Regions from separate parts of the Homo sapiens genome. Here regions 1, 2 and 4 are each linked to region 3. The links are contacts of gene promoters, found by promoter capture Hi-C in human tissues and cell types (Jung and others, 2019). All regions are on one chromosome and are shown on one strand. Each heading gives the region's core, a stretch centred on a gene start or on the middle of the fragment in contact. The rest is flanking DNA. Distances are from core to core; before and after follow the strand shown. Region 1 overlaps RCOR1 (REST corepressor 1). Region 2 holds the start of ANKRD9 (ankyrin repeat domain 9). Region 3 holds the start of AMN (amnion associated transmembrane protein). Region 4 overlaps TECPR2 (tectonin beta-propeller repeat containing 2).

Region 1 (5,073 bases), core at 406-2,905, 270 kb after region 3:
TGGGCCCCCACCTCCAACACTGGGGATGACAATTCGACACAAGATTTGGCTGGGGACACAGATTCAAACCACAACTATCAGCTATAAACATCTAACACAAGCCTTTTAGGAACTACTAAAGAATAACACTATAGGCTGCACGTGGTGGCTCATGCCTGTAATCCCAACGCTTTGGGAAGCCGAGGCCAGCCTGGACAACGTGGCAAAACCCTGTCTCTACCAAAAATAGAAAAAATTAGCTGGGCACGGTAGCGAGTGCCTGTGGTCCCAGCTACTCAGGAGGCTGAGGTGGGAGGATCGATTGAGCCCAGGAGGCGGAGGCTCCAGTGAGGCAAGATTGCACCACTACACTCCAGCCTGGGTGAAAGTAAGACAAGTCTCAATTAAAAAATAATAATAGGCTGGGTGCAGTAGCTCACGCCTGTAATCCCAGCACTTTGGGAGGCCGAGGCAGGAAGATCATGAGGTCAAGAGATCGAGATCATCCTTGCCAACATGGTGAAACCCTGTCTCTACTAAAAATACAAAAATTGGCTGGCGCGCGCCTCTAGTTCCAGCTACTCGGGAGGCTGAGGCAGGAGAATCGCTTGAACCCAGGAGATAGAGGTTGCAGTGAGCCAAGATCACGTCACTGCACTCCAGCCTGGCGACAAAGCGAAACTCCATCTCAAAAAATAGTAATAATAAAACTAAAAAATAAAAATAAAAAGAGTAACACTATAAAATTCAACAGCTGGTATTTTCAAACAGTTTTTTATCCACACTCCCCTCAAATCTTCCCGATACACATTCCTCCCATTTTATTTGCACAGTTATACATGCTAAGTATTCATTATTTATCAACAGTAATATTTTTGTTAAGTGGAAGATAGAAAATGTTAAAGCAGGTGGTTGTTACGTATCTATGGGAAAAAGTCAGCTGGGAGGCTGATTCTAGGTGACAAAAATAGAATATGCTAAAAAGAAATGTAGTTTGGAGAATTTTCACCCAAATTAGAGTCTCAATGAAAGGACACAATAAAATACTGAAATACAGATGTGGGTGGATGGTGTAACATTTGAAGGGAACTGTTCAGAAGAACAAGCAGACAGGCAAGCTTAAAAGAAACAAATAATATAATCACCTAAAGAAAACAGGGCGTTTGAGGACACAGAATTAGGTAAAGGAACACTGCCAGAAGACTAGAGGAGAGAGTGTTTGTAATTCACTGCTCAGCCTTTCTTCCATTCACGTAACTGGGCAATGAAGACTTAAGGTGTTCACTGTTAAGTCATTCTTTAACGCAGCAAGCATTTATTTGGTGTAGCATAACAGTCCTGAAATGGAATCCCAGCTCTGCCTAGACTGAAGGAGAGTTCTCTAATCTCTTTAAGTTTCAATTTTCTCTTCTATAAAAATGGAGGAAACAGTTCCTTCTTCAAAGAGATTAAACAGCAAGTTAAAACAAGTAGCAAACGTCTGGTACATAGTAGGAACTTAAAATAATCAATCCAAACACCACAAATAGATTCAATCATAAGGACACTTTTAAGAAATCCAGTTACAAGGCTCATATCTAAAGCAGATTTAGCAAATTAAATAAACAAAAATAAAACATTCCTAGCAATTTCTACTTATTCTAAGCCAATTCAGCATAAAGATCCTCCAGTGTAAGTTCCCTTTTATTTATGAAGCCTACTGAGAATCAATTTGAGAGACCTTCAGCCACAAGAAATCAGGTCTACAGGGCTATCTAAATAATTAGGGGGCCAGGCATGACGGCTCATGCCTATAATCCCAGCACTTTGGGAGGTCAAGACAGGAGGACCCGTTGAGCCCAGAAGTTGCCAGCAGCAGTAGTGAGCTATGATGGTGCCACTGTACTCTAGCCTGGGAAACAAAGCAAGACCCTGTCTCTATAAATAAATAAATAACCCATTTATTTTGCAAGTGTGCTTATTCATATCAATTCACTTCTGGTCAACAAGCCAAAAAATAAGATACATAAATATAAAATAAATCAGTTCACTTCTTCTCTAGTCTCTCAAGCTATTTTCAAATTCTTTTTTCTTTTTCTTTTTTTTTTTTGAGATGGAGTCTCACTCTGTTGCCCAGGCTAGAGTGCAGTGGCGCAATCTCGGCTCACTGCAACCTCTGCCTTCCAGGTTCAAGCAATTCTCCTGCCTCAACCTCCTGAGCAGCTGGGATTACAGGCACCCGCCACCACGCCCAGCTAATTTTTGTATTTTTAGTAGAGACGGGGTTTCACTGTGTTGGTCAGGCTCATCTCAACCTCCTGACCTCATGATCCGCCTTCCTCGGCCTCCTAAAGTGCTGGGATTACAGGCGTGGGCCACCACGCCTGGCCTATTTTCAAATTCTACACCCTTTATTAATAGCAATACTCAGCTCTGAAGGCTGTGAGACCCCTGATTTCCCACTTCACACCTCTATATTTGTGTGTGTGTGTCTTTAATTCCTCTAGCGCCGCTGGGTTAGGGTCTCCCCGACCGAGCTGGTCTCAGCACCAAACATACTGTCAAATTCTTCTAACTAGTCAACAATGTACTGTGCAACAATGTTAGTTTTATTAGCTGCTAGTGAATTAGGAGTTAGTGTTTTAAATGAGAACATTCTCATTAAGATACCTGTATTCTATTATGAGTCTAAGTCTCATTGTCTAATACAGGAATTATTAGTAATAAGATAATTAAGTTATTCAATAAAGAGCAAACCAAATATTTAACATCTAAGAGTAAGTGCTCTAAATCAAGTCCCGTAAGTTTAAAATATCTCAAGTCAGTTCCTAACTCAGTTGGTAAAGAACACCCACAATACCAATGAGAAGGAAGAGACCAATAACTTCAATGTTTATCCCTTTATATATAACAATTGCAGAATAACCAATGTTTTGCAGACACAGGAATTTCACCAAGTATGTGGTACTGCTTCTCCATCAGTAAAATGAGAAGCATGAACTTACTCTCTAGAGTCCATTTAATAGGAAAATTAAGTGGCTTAATCCTGTCTACAACTTTCACGTCTGACTTCCCTTTCCCAACATCCAAGGGAATCCTGTTCTGTCTTTTAACTGAGTGGATGTGGCGAGGTTTGTAGAATGTGTGTGCTTTTTTCCTACTCTCTTCCTCTGATCCTTCAAGCTTTATTAACATACTTCAGAATAGACTAATCTCAGTCATTAAGCACTGCTGATCACTATGATTCCTCCATCCACCCACCCACCCACCCACCCATCCATCCATTTATTGAAGCAGGATCTTGCTCTGTGCTCTGTCCCTCAGGCTGAAGTGCAGTGGCACTCACTGCAGGCCTCTAATTCCTGACCTCAAGTGATTCTCCCACCTCAGCCTCCCAAAGTGCCAGGATTATGGGCACCAGCCACCATGCCCATGGCCACTATGATTCTTTTTTTTTTTTTTTTTGCGGTGGAGTCTCGCTCTGTCGCCCAGGCTGGAGTGCAGTGGTGCGATCTCGGCTCCCTGCAAGCTGCACCTCCCAGGTTCACACCATTCTCCTGCCTCAGCCTCCTGAGTAGCTGGGACTACAGGTGCCCGCCACCTCACCCGGCTAACTTTTTGTATTTTTAGTAGAGACGGGGTTTCACCATGTTAGCCAGGATGGTCTCATCTCCTGACCTCGTGATCCGCCCATCTCGGCCTCCCAAAGTGCTGGGATTACAGGTGTGAGCCACCGCGCCCGGCCCAAGGCCACTATGATTCTTTAAGCTCTCACCTTTCTTCACTGCCTTCATACACAACCAAGTTAGATAACCAATTCATTTTCTTGAGGATCATTCCTAATGCCAATTTCGTCAACCAGATTTTTTACAGTAAACAAAGCCCATTCTAGCTAATATAAGCAACTAAATGGCTCTACAGGAAGGTCATCAAACCAGATTTACAAGCCATGCAACTAGGACAACACCAGAATTACCCCACAGAACTGCTTCAGTGGAGGTCTTAACTGCTGCAGGTGTTAAACACAAGGACACTTGGCAGTGCATAGTGGACACCACCGCTAGAAAACGCTGCCTCTGAAACCTGGCAGCCATGCTTGTCTACTTCACATCACTTGCTTCCTAATCCTAGTCTTGCCCTGGTGCATGGAATAGAAGTCACACATCTATGACAAACTACAAGAGAGGATGGGAAAACATATTAATAGCTTCTACTGTGGAGTGGACAATTTCCCCTCAAAGACAGTGTTCAAAAGGGGCTGGTACCCAAAATGCATACTAAACATCCACAAGTGATATCACACTAGCTGCTTAGGTCCTAAGGCCCCTGTGTACTTTTTTTCTCAGTTTATTCCCTAAATTGCTCCCTAAGTTCAGTGTTATGGCACTCTCGTAGTTTATGACTAGTAAATACTATTCATAGCTGAATCCTGTTGCATTCTGTTGTTGTAAGTCCATTCTTGTACAATTTGTTTTACCTGATTTTTAATTTATGTTTGTTAAGAGACAGGGTCTCACTCTGTCACCCAGGCCAGAGTTCAGTGGTGTGATTATGTGTGATTTTTTTACCTGGAATTAATAATTCTATTTTTTTTTTGTTTTTTTTGCTTGTTTGGTTTTCTGTATATGTATCACTAATTCACCTCCAAACTTCTACTACATGTGTAAGTCTCAACACATCAGGCTATCTATTGGTTGTTTATTTCTTGACAACACCCCTTTGGAGCCCTGTCTTCACTCACCAATCTGGACTAACTGGTGAATGCCTACACAGCTATTATCCCAAGATTTCTCTTTAAGAATTCCCTTCACCTTATCCTTTGCTGGATTCCATGTCTGGGCCAAGCTTTCAGGGAGATTAAGCAAATGAGTAACTATATTAAGGATGAGAACCAAGATTCTCACTGTCAGAGACGAGAGCTACAAATAAGGAAAGGAAAAGGGCTAAAATGAATCCTATGATGTTGGATCAAAATGGTGGCATTTGTGGTAAAATTCATGGTTATATATATGTGTAGGCAGAGATATAGACAATAAATATGTCTAATAAATAAATACACATAGATCTACTTGTTCTGCCCACTAAGAGGGCTGAAAACAACAATATCCTGGCAGC
Region 2 (4,814 bases), core at 399-2,898, 410 kb after region 3:
CAGTGCCCTCTATACCCCTACTCCTGCTGACAACCTGGCTGCTGTAAGCTTGGCAGTTGCCATGGACTCCCTGGGAGAGATGGCGTGGCCTGGAACGTCCCCCGCCCTGAGGTGGGGCAGGGCTGGTGGGGTCTGGTCATCCCCCTGGTGGGTCCATGCATGGCAGCCTGGGCAGGATACATGTGAGTGCCTACCTGGGCTGGGGTGGCCTGACCCTCTCTGGGCCTCACAGCTTTGTCTGCCTCATGGTACTGTCCACCTGGCCTCTCAGGACTGCTCTGTGGCGTGTGTGCTTAAGGGATTGAGCTCGTTGGGCTGGGGACAGAGGCCTGCCTAGGTCTGTTGAGAGGGCCCAGGTAAGACTTCCACCCAGACTGACTGGCTGGGGCACACAGAGAAGCCAGGACAGGGCTGATTGTGTGTGCAGGGGCGTGCCCTCTGGACGAGGCCCCTCCCACCGGGGCGAGGCAGAGGCCTTGCTTGGTTGGAGCGGAGTGGGGGAGTGGGAGGGTCTCCCTGGTGAGATAGTACTGGAAGGGCAGGGACAGCATTCTAGGGAAGGAACCAGAAAGAGCCCCTGCATGGAATGTGGGGATTTCACCATGAGACCCCGGCTGCCTGGCCTCTGAGAACGTGTGTGGGGGGATTCCAGGTGGAAGGTCGTGTCTGGGAGGATGGGTGGGGGGTTGAGCAGTCATTGCCCCTCTCCAGATCTGCGTCCACATCTGTAAAATGGGCCTAGAATTCCCAGCCGCTGGGGGCGAGTGAGGCCATAAATTAGTTGAGATGGACCCAGGCTCCTAAGCCCCCTAGGTCATGACCCCAAACCTTGGAACCCCCGACGGAGACGGTGGGGGTGGCCGAGGCCCAATCGAATCTATCCCGCCCAGATGTGGGAAGAACCGCAGGGCAAACCCCCGGCTTCCCTCCTGGCCGCTCCTCTCTTTGAGGCCACCTCTCTGAGCCCTGATTTGCTGGCGGGTGAACTGGGGATCATCGTGTCCACTGTGGCTGGTGGTCGTGAAACGAAGTGGAAACATGAGTGTTGAGGCCGAGATGGGCGCAGTGCGCGCTCCTAAACAGCTGTCCCCATCCGTCCGCCCCTCCCTCCCTTGCGCGGGTCAGCTGGAGCGGGGGCGCGCCAGGCACGACCCTGGCCGGGCAGAAGGCGGTGGAGCCCTTAGGGGTCGCGGCTCCTACCCCCGGCCCTCCCATGTGCAGATGGGGTAGCAGCCTGGAGGTTTTTCCCAAGGTCACGTAAGGTCAAAGAAAAGGGGAGCTGGACGCGACGAGGAAAGTCACGCACGGCGGAGGGCGGGCCACCTACGCGCGCGCCCGAGTTCGCAGAGCAGCGGCGCCCTCCCGGGCTAGGGCAGCTCGGAGCTCGGAGCCTTTCTTCGCCCGCAGCTCGGGTTCCGGGAGCCCCGCCCCCGCCCATCAACGCCCCGCCCCTTTCGCCACGGCCCCGCCCCTCCTCTCCGTTCTCCCCGCCGGCGCTCCCTCAAGTTTCTCCGAAGTTTTCCGCGGGTCCAGCGGTGCGCCCCGCCCGCCGGCCAGTGACGTAACAATGGTGCAGCGCGGCGGCCAATGGGTGGTGGCGGGGGCCGGCGGCGCGGGCCAATGGCGGCGGCGGACGGTCCCGCTGTCCTGCCTGGCCGGGGCCGCACTGCGCCGCCCGCCGCCCGCCGCCCGCCGCCCGCCGCCGGCGACGGCACCGCCGCCCTGCGATCCGGCCGCGGCGGCTCAGAGCGCGGCTGCGGCGGGCGCGGGCGGCGGTGGCTCCCTCCCGTGCGTCCGTCGTGGGACCTTTGCCCGCTCGCCCGCGGGGGACAGCGCGCGCTCCGGTCCGCGGCAGGGGCGGGGACGCCCGGCCTGTGGCCCCCGCGCCCCCCATGGTGAGTCCCCGTCCCCCGCGCCGCGCCCGCGGCCGCCGCCCCCTCCTCCTCCGGCACACGCGCACGCAGGTGCAGCCCTCGCTGCGCCGGCCACCTGCGCGCGGACGCCCCGCTCGGCCCCGCGACCCTCCGCCGCCCGACGTCTGGCCGTGCAGGCCGGGAGGGGACGGGTAGGAGGTGGCGGGTGGCCCCGGGCGCGGCGCTGCCTTCGATGGCCCAACCCCCTTATTCACGAGCCGCGGCCGTGACTCTGCCCGGTGACGTGGGGAGGCCGAACTTTACGTAACCCGCCCGGCGCCCCACGCGTGCCGGCACAGGGCATATCTGGGGCCCGGAGGCCCAGGCTTGGGGAAGGGGCTCCAGTCACGGTGTTGCCCACGGGCCACAGCCTACCCGCACCGCGCCGCTCTCTTTAACTCAGTTACTGCCAGTGATAGTGACCCAGTCAGTGTGTGTGGACGCGGCCTGCCTTCTGTCCCAGGCCCCTTGTGACCAAGGGCTTACCCTTGAAAGAAGGCAGTAGGGAGGTTGGGACGGAGCCAGAGGTCAGACGCCTAGGCTCAGGTCGGGGCTGGGGACTCAGAGGGCAGGGTCAGGGCCTAAGCTCGATTGCCTGTGGGTTGGGGGTCCCCACCAATTCTGGAATGAGCCCAAACTGAGACGCAGGGGACCTGAGTTCTAGGCCTGGCTCTGCCGTGGCTTGCTGACCTTGGAGAATTGGAGAAGCTTGTGCCCTGCTGGAAAGTGGGATGGCAGTACCCGCTTCATCTAGTAGTCGGGGAGATCAAGAGAGGTATGGGACCTGAAGAGGATGGCAGACTGTGCAGTGCGGTGCACACCGGTCTCCAGGTTGTTTTCACCCTCCTATCTCCTCCCAGGAGCTAACGTGTAAGCAAACATGTTTGGATAGAGGGCTGGTGCCACGCCCCAGGCTCACCCCGCCCGCACAGCCGTCGTCCACCCCTCCCCTTTCTTACAGATAAAGCTGAGGCTCGGCCAGGGACTGTGATATACCCACATCCCCGGAACTAGGTGATCGCGGTGCAGGAACCAGGTAGGTCTGAGTCTGGATCATGCCTCTGAACAGCCCAGGAAGAGGCTCCAGGGGCCTCCAAGTGGTCTGGGGTCGGAGATCAGGGTCAGGGTTGCGCTTGGGCTGGAGAGTGGATTTGCCTCAGCTTGAGATGTGGGCCCAAGCTTTCTCATCCCCTCCCTGGCCTTTTCTTTATTTGGGGTCGTATGAACCTGGCTTAGGTGGGAACAGAAGCTCTTCCAGTGGGTCCCTGGGTTGGAGAGGGGAGGGGAGATTTGAGGGCATGGGCAGCAAGGGCATTTCCAGCAGAGGTGCCAGAGAGCAAGTCAGTTTCAAGGAGGGAGAACAGGTACAGCTAGATCAAGGATGGAGGCGGTGGTTCTGGGCGTCGGAGAGATGGAGCTGTAGGGTGACTGGAAGGGCCTGGCCGAGGCTGGAGGTAGGTACAGGCCTGGTGGGCCAGGACCGGAGGGGCTGTGTGAGGGGCAGAGGGGAGTCCCCGGGCCTCCCCAGTTTCCCCGCGCCTCACCGTGGCCTCTTCCTTTCCCCGCAGGTGTGCCTTCGCGGGATCCATGCCTTGAGGCCCAGGAACGCCCCGCCGCCAGCATGCCGTGGGACGCGCGGCGGCCTGGGGGTGGCGCGGACGGCGGGCCCGAGGCCTCGGGCGCGGCGCGCTCGCGAGCGCAGAAGCAGTGCCGCAAGTCGTCGTTCGCCTTCTACCAGGCGGTGCGCGACCTGCTACCCGTGTGGCTGCTGGAGGATATGCGCGCCAGCGAGGCCTTCCACTGGGACGAGCGCGGGCGCGCCGCCGCCTACTCGCCCTCTGAGGCGCTGCTCTACGCGCTCGTGCACGACCACCAAGCGTACGCGCATTACCTGCTGGCCACGTTCCCGCGGCGCGCGCTCGCACCGCCCAGTGCCGGCTTCCGCTGCTGCGCGGCTCCCGGGCCGCACGTGGCGCTGGCAGTGCGCTACAACCGCGTGGGCATTCTGCGCCGCATCCTGCGCACCTTGCGCGACTTCCCGGCCGAGGAGCGGGCGCGCGTGCTGGACCGGCGTGGCTGCAGCCGCGTGGAGGGCGGTGGCACGTCGCTGCACGTGGCCTGTGAGCTGGCGCGCCCCGAGTGCCTCTTCCTGCTGCTGGGCCACGGCGCCTCGCCCGGTCTGCGGGACGGCGGCGGCCTCACGCCTCTCGAGCTGCTGCTGCGCCAGCTGGGCCGCGACGCCGGGGCCACTCCCTCCGCCGCCGGAGCCCCCGCCTCAGCTCCCGGGGAGCCGCGCCAGCGCCGCCTGCTGCTGCTGGACCTCCTGGCGCTGTACACCCCCGTGGGTGCCGCCGGCTCGGCCCGCCAGGAGCTGCTGGGCGACCGGCCGCGCTGGCAGCGGCTGCTGGGTGAGGACAAGTTCCAGTGGCTGGCGGGCCTGGCGCCGCCCTCGCTCTTCGCGCGCGCCATGCAGGTGCTGGTCACCGCCATCTCTCCAGGCCGCTTCCCCGAGGCCCTGGACGAGCTGCCGCTGCCCCCATTCCTGCAGCCGTTGGACCTCACTGGCAAAGGCTAGGCCCGGAGCACCCTAGGCGCTGGATTTTGGGACAAAACTATTTTTCAGAGCGTTGTACCGGCACTTTATATATATTGATCTCTGTACGGCACAATCTCTGCCTCATCTGTCGCATGCACTGGGGGCTGGGCTTGGATGGTCAGGTGAGTTCCAAGTGGCAGGTTTTCTGGGTGCAGCTGGGCTCGGGCCTTCAGCTCGCTGTCCAGCCCCTGAAGGGAGTGAGGACTAACCTCCCACCTTGATCTAGAGCCTCGGACAGGTGTGCGTCCCAGATGGGTGACAGCTGAGTGCCGCAGGAGCTCGGTAGGTGCAGGGGTGGGGACTGG
Region 3 (4,544 bases), core at 2,001-4,500:
TCATCTAGGCAGATGGATGAAGCTGGGAGCCAGGGGTGTGGAGGGCAACATAGCCGACGCGGGCAGGGGATGGGGGTGCTTGGGCGGCTCTGGGTGAATTCGGCCTCTGCAGGCTGGGACCCTGGGGCCACTGTCCCCTGCCCCTGCGCTGTTCCCACCGGCCAATGGATGATCAATGAATGAATTATTGAATAGATGAATGAATGGAGTATTGCCTCCTTTCAGAGCCCAAGTGCTTCCAAAGGAGATCATGAAAGTAAGGAGGCCGGCAGGGGAGGGGAGTAGGGGGAAATCCATGCCCTGGAACCCCCAGCCCAGCCTGACTCCTCTGCCCACAGGTCCCCCATCAGCTCCCAGTGCCCCCCTCACTCGGGCTGCCTGGTTGCCAAGGTTATGCGTGGGTTCTGGGGGCCGGGCCACAAGGGGCAACCGCCTCCCTCTCCCTGCCCTCCTCCTGTTTCCCGGGTGGGAGCGTCGCCATCTTGCTGTGGGTGCCCTCCCCAGTGTGTGGCAGCTTTTGGGTTAAGGCAGCTTTGGAAAACCTGAAGGAAGGAACCAAGCGGCCCTGGGGTGGAAATGAGGCCCAGGGTCCCTGACCCCGCATGGGGCAGGAATGGGCCAGGCCAAGCCCATTGAGCCATCCTCCCCACCCGCACACGCGGGGGCCCCAGGCCTGGACCCCACATCTGGAGCCGACACCCCGACCCAGCTCACCAGTGACCCTCACTCAGGAGTGACTGAGCTGGCAGGTGTGCAGGTGACAGGATGAGGACGCAGCCCAGGAGTGGCTGTGAAGGGGCTGGAAGGAAGCTTTTGCCCAGAGGCTTGGCCTGCAGGCCCCACAGTCACCCTGGAAGCTGGTGGGCTGCCGATGCAATGGGACAGTGGCCACCGAGGATACTCAACCAAGCGGGCAGGCTGTGTGCCAGTGAAGCTGTATTTACTGTCGCTGAGGTGTGAATGTCATATATTTTTCAAGTGCCACAAAAGATTGTTCTTTTTTTCCCCAACGATTACAAAGTGTAAAAACCGTTCCTTGCTCCACCCGTAGGGGCTGCATTTGGCCTGTAGCTTGCGGAACTCCACCTTAAACAAGGAAATTAGCTTCTTTCTCTGGGGCCTTATCAGAGCCTTTAATACGTGATGAAGCTCCAGGAAAGTGCAGGCTGCAGCATTTCCCAAACTTACCTACTCATGGAACCCGCTTTCCTCCCAGTTCCCATCATGTTCTTGGAGTGTTGTGTGAAGCAGTTTGAGAAAAAGGTCCCCTAGGGCAGCAGTCCCCAACCTTTTTGGCACCAGGGACCAGTTTTGTGGAAGACAGTTCTTCCATGGACTGATGGGAGTGGGGAAGGTTTCAGGATTAAGCTGTCCCATCTCAGATGTCAGCCACTTAAGGAGTGCACACCCACCCAGGCCCCTCGCTGGCGCAGTGACAATAGGGGTCCCTAGGAGAATCTGATCTGATCTGAAGGGAGGCAGAGCCAGGCAGGAGTGGGCTCGCCTCTTCCTGGGCGGCCACTTCCTAACAGGCCAGGGACCCGGATGGTGGGTAGAGGGGGGGGTGTTGGGGACACTTTCCCTAGTGTTCTAAAGATGGAGCTTTAGGCACCAGGACAAGGCAAGGCTTTGGGGGAAGGGCATGGAGCAGGCGCTTCCTGGGAAGACCACCCACTGCTGGGCATCACAAGGGCTGTGGGGACAGGGGTGCCTCCCATCCCTCCCAGGACACAGCCTGGCTGGGACCATGGGACCAAGCTCCCCTAGGTTCCCCCCCACTCCCTGCCTCCTAGAATATTCTCCAGAGGCCAAAGTCCCAGTCCTGCAGTGCCTCCATGCCGGTGGGGTCCGCCCTCAAGGCACAGCAGTCCCTGAAGGCGCTTCAGAGACTCTGTGAACCCCCAGCCCAGTGGCAGTAGCAGCCCGGCCTTACCATGTCTGAGACGGCGTGACCTTCTTGCACCAGGACTGACACCATCTGCAGGAAGAAGCTGCCTCAGCCGAGCCGGGAGCAACCCCCACCGGGGCCACACGGTCTCAGGGGTCCAGGCCCATCACCGACCCCGCCGGCGCTCCCAGGCACCTTGTCCGCCGGGAACTCAACGGCGCCGCCGGCGCACGGGGTCCGGTTCTGGCTCCAGTTGGCTGCGACGTCGAAGTCCGTGTTGGGGACCCAGAGTTTGGAGACCGCCTGGGTCAGTGCTGGGGAGGAGGCGACTGAGTGCCCGGGATGCTCTCCGGGATGCTCCCTTCTCAGGGAAGGCCACCCACCCAGAGAAGTGCGGAAGGTCCGCGCGGATCACCCGGGACGCATAGGAACCCCATCCCCGGGGGCCCGGACCCAGACCCTGGTCCCTCCCGGCCAGACTGTGGGCGCCCTGCCCGGGCGCTCTCCAACGGACTTCTACTGATACCTGCAGAGCCCGCTCAAACGCGCCCTGCAGGACGCCTGCCTAGATAGCCTCCCGGCACTGCCCCCAGTTTGCCTGGCGCTGGAGCAGAGGACAGCGTTGTTAAGGACAGTGACAACTGGGGCATGGAGGAGGATGGGGCAGCACAGACCTCTTCTCGGCCTTGGAATCAGGAAGGCTTCCCGGAGGAGTCCTACCTGGGCCGGGAAGAGCTGCGACAGAGCGCAACCCGGTATGAGAAGTAAGAAGGGGCTGGGGGCGGCAGGACCAGGTCAGGCCGGCCCTGAATGTGGTGGGTGGGGTTGTCCTGAGGGAGCCGCGAGGGGTTTAGGGAAGGGGGCGCCAGGGACACGCGCCGGCCTGGTGTGAAGGCGGAGGAGGGCTCAGTGCTCCCTTGGGGACCGGGAAGCTGAGGCGGTCTGCCGAGCCCCGCAGGCGCACACTCGCTGCTCTCGGCAGGTTCTGGGGACCGCGCCCATTTCGCAGACGGAAAAACCGCGAGGGCAGGAGCCGCCGGAGGCCGGGGCTGGCCGAGGTTCCCGGAGCCCCTCCTCTCCTCTCCCGCACCGCCCGATGCACTGGCCGCGCACTTCCGGGCTGCGCACTCGCCAGACGAGGGAGGCAGGGCCGAGTTTCACGCCCCCAACCCTCCAAAGCCCTCCCTGCCCACTCCTCGGAAGATCTTCACCCTCCAGGCCTAGAGCGACCTCGGCCCTGGGTCCTGACAGACCGCTACCGTCCGGGCCCGCACCGGTGTGGTCCCGGCTCACCGCAGAGCTGCAGCCACAGCAGGACCCGGCCCAGGACGCCCATCTCGCCTCGGCTCCTTGCACCCCACCAGGAGACTTTGCCCCACTGGACCCACGTGACCAGGCAGGTCGGGTGGGGGCACCAGGGTCGGTTACACATTTACCTCCAGACCCGCCCAGGGCCGACTCTTCAGGCCCCTGGGAGGCACCTTCTCAGCCTCCCCTTACCCGCCCCTGCAGGGCCTGAACACCTTAGGTTCTCAGGAAGAAGGGCAAAGAAGAAGGGCTTGGCGAGACTGACCTACCCTGTAAAATGGGTGTCTTGCCGGGAGGGGGAATAAACGACCTTTGAATTCACCCCTTTCTCTGTCCTGTGTGCTGCTAGGGCTGAGCTAGTCTGCTCACCATTGGAACTGGGTGTCCACTTCTCCACGCAGTGCCCCTGTCCCATGGGCTGTGGGTGGTGGTTGGATGATAGAAGGAAGATCCTGGATGGAACATGGTATGTGGATGGTATAGGAGGGTGGATTGTGGATGATGGTGGAGAGTAGTGGATGGTGAGTAGGGGACAGCTGATGGACAGCAACATTGATGGTGCATGGTGTACGGCATATGGACGCATGGCAGATGAATGGTAAATGGTTGACGGGGTGGATGGTGAGTGATAGAGGGTGGATGGGTGATGAATGGATGGATGAGGATGGTGAGTGAAAAATGAATGAATGGCCGGGCGTGGTGGCTCATGCCTGTAATCCCAGCACTTTGGGAGGGTGAGGCAGGCGGATCGCGAGGTCAGGAGATCAAGACCATCCTGGCTAACGCGGTGAAACCCCGTCTATACTAAAAATATACAAAAAAATTAACCGGGCATGGTAGAAGGCGCCTGTAGTCCCAGCTACTTGGGGGGCTGAGGCAGAACGGCGTGAACCCAGGAGGTGGAGCTTGCAGTGAGCCACGATCGTGCGCTGCACTCCAGCCTGAGCGACAGAGCGAGACTCCGTCTCAAAAAAAAAAAAAAAAAAAGGAAAAGGAATGGATGGTAATCAGGGAGTGGTGGATGGATAATGGCATAAATGGATACATGGCCGACAGGTAGATCATAAAGAGTGGGTGTTGGCGGGGCACGGTGGCTCACGCCTGTAACCGCAGCACTTTGGGAGGCCAAGGCGGGCAGATCACCTGAGGTCGGGAGTTCGAGACCAGCCTGACCAACATGGAGAAACCCCATCTCTACTAAAAATACAAAATTAGATAGGCATGGTGGCACATGCCTGTAATCCCAGCTACTTGGGAGGCTAAGGCAGGAGAATCGTTTGAACCTGGAAGGCGGAGGTTGTGGTGATCGGAGATCACGCCACTGTGCTCCAGCCTGGGCAACAAGAGT
Region 4 (5,021 bases), core at 1,812-4,311, 470 kb after region 3:
GGGCGGGGTGGCACAGGCCTGTAATCCCAGCTACTTGGGAGACTGAGGCAGGAGAATCGCTTGAACCTAGGAGACGGAGGTTGCAGTGAGTCAAAAATCAGACCATTGCACTCCAGCCTGGGCAACATGGTGAGACACTATCTCAAAAAAAAAAAAAAAAAAAAAGGGAATTTAGTGGGAGCAGAGGAGCGAAGTTAGGAAGAAGAGCACAATTGGGGGAGGCTAAATTTGATATTGAACAACATCCTCAAATGCAGTCACTGTGTTTCCATTCATTGCTGTGTGCACCCCCTACTGTTGACTTTAACAAATATTTTTAGAGATGGGGTCTTGCTATGTTGGCCAGGTTGGTTTTAAATTCCTGGCCTCAAGCAGTCCTCCCAAAGTGCTAGGATTACAGGTGTAAGCCACTGCACCCGGCCCACTGCTGACTTGTAAAAAATAAATGAAGCACCCCAATTAATTCCAGATAAGTAACACAGGCAGCAGCCATGTCAGCTTGATGACTCTCCTTTACAGTCAATAATCCCCATTCAATGCATGCCACCTGATGACAGCCGCCATGCACAGTCATACACGGGCTCCTGGGCAGACAGCACACCTGCATTCAAAATTTTCACTTAAATAAGTAATTATTAAAAGGTCTCTTGGGTCAGGCGCAGTGGCTCACACCTGTAATCCCAGCACTTTGGGAGGCCAAGACGGGTGCATCAGTTGAGGTCAGGAGCTCGAGACCAGCTTGGCCAACATGGTGAAACCCCGTCTCTACTAAAAACACAAACATTAGCCGGGCATGGCTGTGGATGCCTGTCATCCCAGCTACTCGGGAGGCTGAGGCAGGAGAATCACTTGAACCCAGGAGGCGGAGGTCGCAGTCAGCCAAGATTGTGTCACTGCACTCCAGCCTAGGCAACAGAGTAAGACTCTGTCTCAAACAAACAAAAAGAGAAGTCTCTTGACCTACCTGCTTTTCCTGCAGGACACAGACCATACCTGGAGAGAGCCTAATAACTGAACACCTGGTGCCCCTGGCCTGATGCTCACTGCCCCTACCCTGGCATAGTGAAGGCTGGGGAGGTGGCTGTTCTTTCTAGGGGAGAAACTCAGCTTCAGTGAGATTGAGTCTCAACTTAAGAGTGACAGGGAGGCTGGGTGCGGTAGCTCACACCTGTAATCCCAGCACTTTGGGAGGCTGAGGCGAGCAGATCACGAGGTCAGGAGATCAAGACCATCCTGGCTAACACGGTGAAACCCCATCTCTACTAAAAATACAAAAAATTAGCCAGGCGTGGTGTTGGGAGCCTGTAGTCCCAGCTACTCGGGAGGCTGAGGCAGGAGAATGACGTGAACCCAGGAGGCAGAGCTTGCAGGGAGCCGAGATTGCGCCACTGCACTCCAGCCTGGGCAACAGAGCGAGACTCTGTCTCAAAAAAAAAAAAAAAAAGAGCGAGAGGGAAACAGGAACAAGTCCACCCTGAGTCCAAGATGGCCTCGAGCCCTCCAGTGTTCAGCAGATACTCGTTGAGGGGATAGGTGCGTGTGCAGAGGAACAGCCTGGGAGTCCCGGTTGCCTGTTCACCTCCCTTGCCCCAACACAAAGCTGCCAACCCTGGACTTGCTGCATTCTCTCAGGATGTGTAGGAAACAGGAAAGGAGTCTTAATCTGACATTTCAAGATCAACCAGATAACTCAAATAAACAAAATCTAAAGTTCAGGGCAGGATAAGGACTAAGCGAGGTGGTGCTTTAACAAGAGATGCTGGATTTGTCCTCCCTGTGGCACAAACTGGGGCAACACAAGCAAAAGCCCCACCACCAGCAGCTAACAAAGACTAGAGAGCACCCCCAAGCAAGACGTGTCACAGCCTTAGGATGACCACACCGCCCGGAGATGGCCAACATTTAGACGGGATGCCCCGTGCATCCTCCAGGGGGTTGGGCTTGGGGGTTGCTGCTCCCATTAGAAAGGAGAGGAAACCAAGGCCGGGCATGGTGGCTCACACTTGTAATCCCAGCACGTTGGGAGGACAAGGCAGGTGGATCATTTGAGGTCAGGAGTTCAAGACTAGCCTGGCCAACATGATAAAACCCCATCTCTACCCAAAATACAAAAGTTAGCAGGGACTGTACGTGGTGGCTCACGCCTGTAATCCCAGCACTTTGGGAGGCGGAGGCAGGCGGACCACCTGAGGTCAGGAGTTCAGGACCAGACTGGCCAACATGGTGAAACCCTGTCTCTACTAAAAATACAAAAAATTAGCCAGGTGTGGTGGTGGGTGCCTGTAATCTCAGCTACTCGGGAGGTTGAGACAGGGAGAATTGCTTGAACCTGGGAGGCAGAGGCTGCAGTGAGCCGAGATCGTGCCACTGCACTCCAGCCTGGGCGACAGAGCGAAACTCCGTCTCAAAAAACAAAAAAATTAGGTGGGCATGGTGGCACATGTCTGTGGTCCCAGCTACTTGGGAGGCTGAGGTGCGAGGATTGCTTAAGCCTGGGAAGGCAGAGGTTGCAGTGAGCCAAGATCGTGCCACTGCACTCTAGCCTGGATGACAGAGTGAGACCCCACCTGGAAAAAAAAGAAAGGAGAGGAAATTGCGGTTCAAGGTGACAGCAGCTTGCCCAGAGTCCAGAGCCCGCCTGGGGCCCAGCTCTGTCCTGCCTCTGCCATGAGTCCCCACACCTCTGCCTGTGACCTCCTTGCACCCACTGCTGTCTGATTCATTTCGGGGTCAGCCGGATACTGACATTGATTTGCTAATGATTTTGCAGGCGGAACACAGGAGGTCAGTGAAAACCTGCCCATCCACAGCGACCAGGATCCCCAGGCCATCCCTCTGTTCACACACCCAACCCCTCAATGAGTATCTGCTGAACACCAGATGGCCCAAGGCCATCTTGGACTCAGGATGGACTTGTTCCTGTTTCCCTCACACTCTTGAGACTCAATCCCACTCAAGCCAGGTTTCTCCCCGAGAGAAACCTCCCAGTGAAGCCCAAATACACACCTTAGAGACCTGCACCACTTTGGCCAGCTAGCCGGTGCTGGGAGGACTGGATCGAGCCAGGAGGGAGGCATGAGCTGTGCTGGAGGCAGGAGGCCCAGGCAGGGCTGGCTCCAGCAGTGCAGAACCTGGCATGATGCCCATTCACTCTGAATCCCACCACGGTGCAGCAGCCTTCCTGGAGGGGCTGGGAAGGGGACGTGCAAGGGAAGCAGTTCTGCTTCTCACCCAAATGGTGCAGGTGAACACAGCCTCCCACAGTGCTCAAGATTCAGGAGCAGGGAGAATACACACCAAGCCCTGGACTTTTTACCCTCAGAGGGAACTAGCGGCATTTTCCAGTTAGTCTGGGTAGGAGCTGCTGGAGAATGGCTCAGGACCAGTAGGGTCTCTGAACAAATGAAAGGCTTTCCAGGGCAGGCGGCAGGTCAGTCAGCACCAATGTTCAGGCCACTCTCAGCCTCAGCCTTGTCTATCAGTCACTGTCAGTGATGTGGAGAGGCGGGTGTTCTCAAAAAGCTAGATGGTGACTGGTGGGTCCAAAAGGCAGGTGGGGAGGCCCAAAGCATAAAGAACAAAAGTTGCCCTGGACAAACCTTCAGTCCCCAAGCCTTGGAACAGAACTTGCTTCTTCAGCTGAGTTAGTGTTCAGGGGCCTTTTCAGGCAAAAGAATGGGTGATGTCTACTCAGCACCCTGTAGGAGCCCCCGGGGCTGAGCACACCAACCACTGCCAGGCAGCCTAGGACGATGCTTGCTTTACGGAATGGCAAGAGGCTCTCATCAGCTGGTAGCATACAGACTGCAATGCAGCCAGGGGCTTGGGGAGAAGGGGAACAAGCCCTTCTCTTCCTGCTTTCTTTTTTTTTTTTTTCTTTTGAGACAGAGTCTTGCTCTGTCACCCAGGCTGGAGTGCAATGGCATGGATCTCAGCTCACTGCAACCTCTGCCTACCAAGTTCAAGTGATTCTCGTGCCTCAGCCTCCCAACCAAGTAGCTGGGATTACAGGCATGTGCCACCACACCCAGGTAATTTTTGTATTTTTAGTAAAGACGGGGTTTCACCATGTTGGCCAGGTTGGTCTTGAACTCCTGACCTCAGGTGATCCGCCCTCCTTGGCCTCCCAAAGTGCTGGGATTATAGGCATTAGCCACTGTGCCCAGCCCTCTTCTTGCTTTCTTTCTCCCCATCCTTTTTTTTTTTTTTTTTTTGGTGAGTACATGTGATTGAGTTTTCAAACATTAAATGCTTATACAATTCAAGTCTACCACATAACCAAATGCTGGTTCTAAGTTAAAAAAACTGGGAAGCCTTGCAGCCAGGAAGTTCCTAAGTCAGTCCTGCTGCAAGTGCAGGGCTCATCCGGGCCCTGGGGGCCATCTGCACAACTCCACCTTCAGGCAAACCACACCTATGCTGCCTGATCCACCAAGAATCTACTCAGAGAGAAATCTAATGTTGTGGGCTTATGTTATTATTTCTTGGAACATGAATGAATTATTTACAAATAGCAGCACTACATTTCTTTCTTTCTTCTTCTTTTTTTTTTTTTGAAACAGAATCTCGCTCTGTTGCCTGGGCTGGAGTGCAATGGCATGATCTCGGCTCACTGCAACCCCCGCCTCCCGGGTTCAAGCAATTCTCCTGCCTCAGCCTCCTGAGTAGCTGAGACTACAGGCGTGCACTGCCACGCCCACCTAATTTTTTTTTGTATTTTTAGTAGAGACAGGGTGTCACCATGTTGGCCAGGCTGGTCTCGAACTCTTGATCTCAGGTGATCCACCCACCTCAGCCTCCTAAAGTGCTGGGATGACAAGTGTGAGCCACTGCGCCCGGCCTACAAATAGCACTACATTTCTTAGCCTACTCCACGGCTTTTGATAGAAGATTCAGAGAAAAGCAGGAGCTAGTGGATGCAGGTCCTCCTATATCTGGCTGAGCTGAAGGAGAGCTAGCACCTGTGTGCTGAGCCACTCTCCTCCGCCAGGTACTGTCCTGAGGAGATAGACAAACGTGGC

The links. Contacts are between HindIII fragments. The study calls those that stand out against the background at their distance.
Region 1: a fragment that was not itself captured here is called in contact with the fragment with the promoter of AMN in region 3 in 2 of the 25 tissues and cell types used here (H1 embryonic stem cells and dorsolateral prefrontal cortex).
Region 2: a contact is called between the fragment with the promoter of ANKRD9 here and the fragment with the promoter of AMN in region 3, in 1 of the 25 tissues and cell types used here (mesendoderm cells).
Region 4: a contact is called between a fragment that was not itself captured here and the fragment with the promoter of AMN in region 3, in 2 of the 25 tissues and cell types used here (dorsolateral prefrontal cortex and mesendoderm cells).

Annotation. Positions count from the first base shown.
Region 1 is chr14:102,648,548-102,653,620 of GRCh38, reverse strand. The region is part of intron 2 of RCOR1 (REST corepressor 1); the gene reads right to left. Among named protein-coding and RNA genes, the nearest start is that of RCOR1, 58 kb to the right of the region's middle. RefSeq lists an enhancer at 1-353. The HindIII fragment of the contact is 4,634 bases long and covers 1-3,972 here.
Region 2 is chr14:102,506,610-102,511,423 of GRCh38, reverse strand. It overlaps ANKRD9 (ankyrin repeat domain 9), which reads left to right and starts at 1,648. Exons shown (of 4, transcript NM_152326.4): 1 at 1,648-1,895; 2 at 2,578-2,783; 3 at 2,875-2,949; 4 at 3,482-4,814. The coding sequence starts at 3,535. The coding sequence ends at 4,488. LOC105370679 (a long non-coding RNA gene) reads right to left here and starts at 1,381. Exons shown (of 4, transcript XR_007064352.1): 1 at 1-1,381. RefSeq lists enhancers at 1-284, 285-930, 931-1,574 and silencers at 1,055-1,104, 1,265-1,704, 2,699-2,860. The HindIII fragment of the contact is 3,197 bases long and covers 1-2,857 here.
Region 3 is chr14:102,921,369-102,925,912 of GRCh38, reverse strand. It overlaps AMN (amnion associated transmembrane protein), which reads right to left and starts at 3,250. Exons shown (of 12, transcript NM_030943.4): 1 at 3,182-3,250; 2 at 2,084-2,202; 3 at 1,934-1,978. The coding sequence starts at 3,224. RefSeq lists silencers at 1,465-1,663, 2,827-3,026. The HindIII fragment of the contact is 38,072 bases long and covers 1-4,544 here.
Region 4 is chr14:102,453,014-102,458,034 of GRCh38, reverse strand. The region is part of intron 16 of TECPR2 (tectonin beta-propeller repeat containing 2); the gene reads right to left. Among named protein-coding and RNA genes, the nearest start is that of ANKRD9, 54 kb to the left of the region's middle. The HindIII fragment of the contact is 7,609 bases long and covers 1-5,021 here.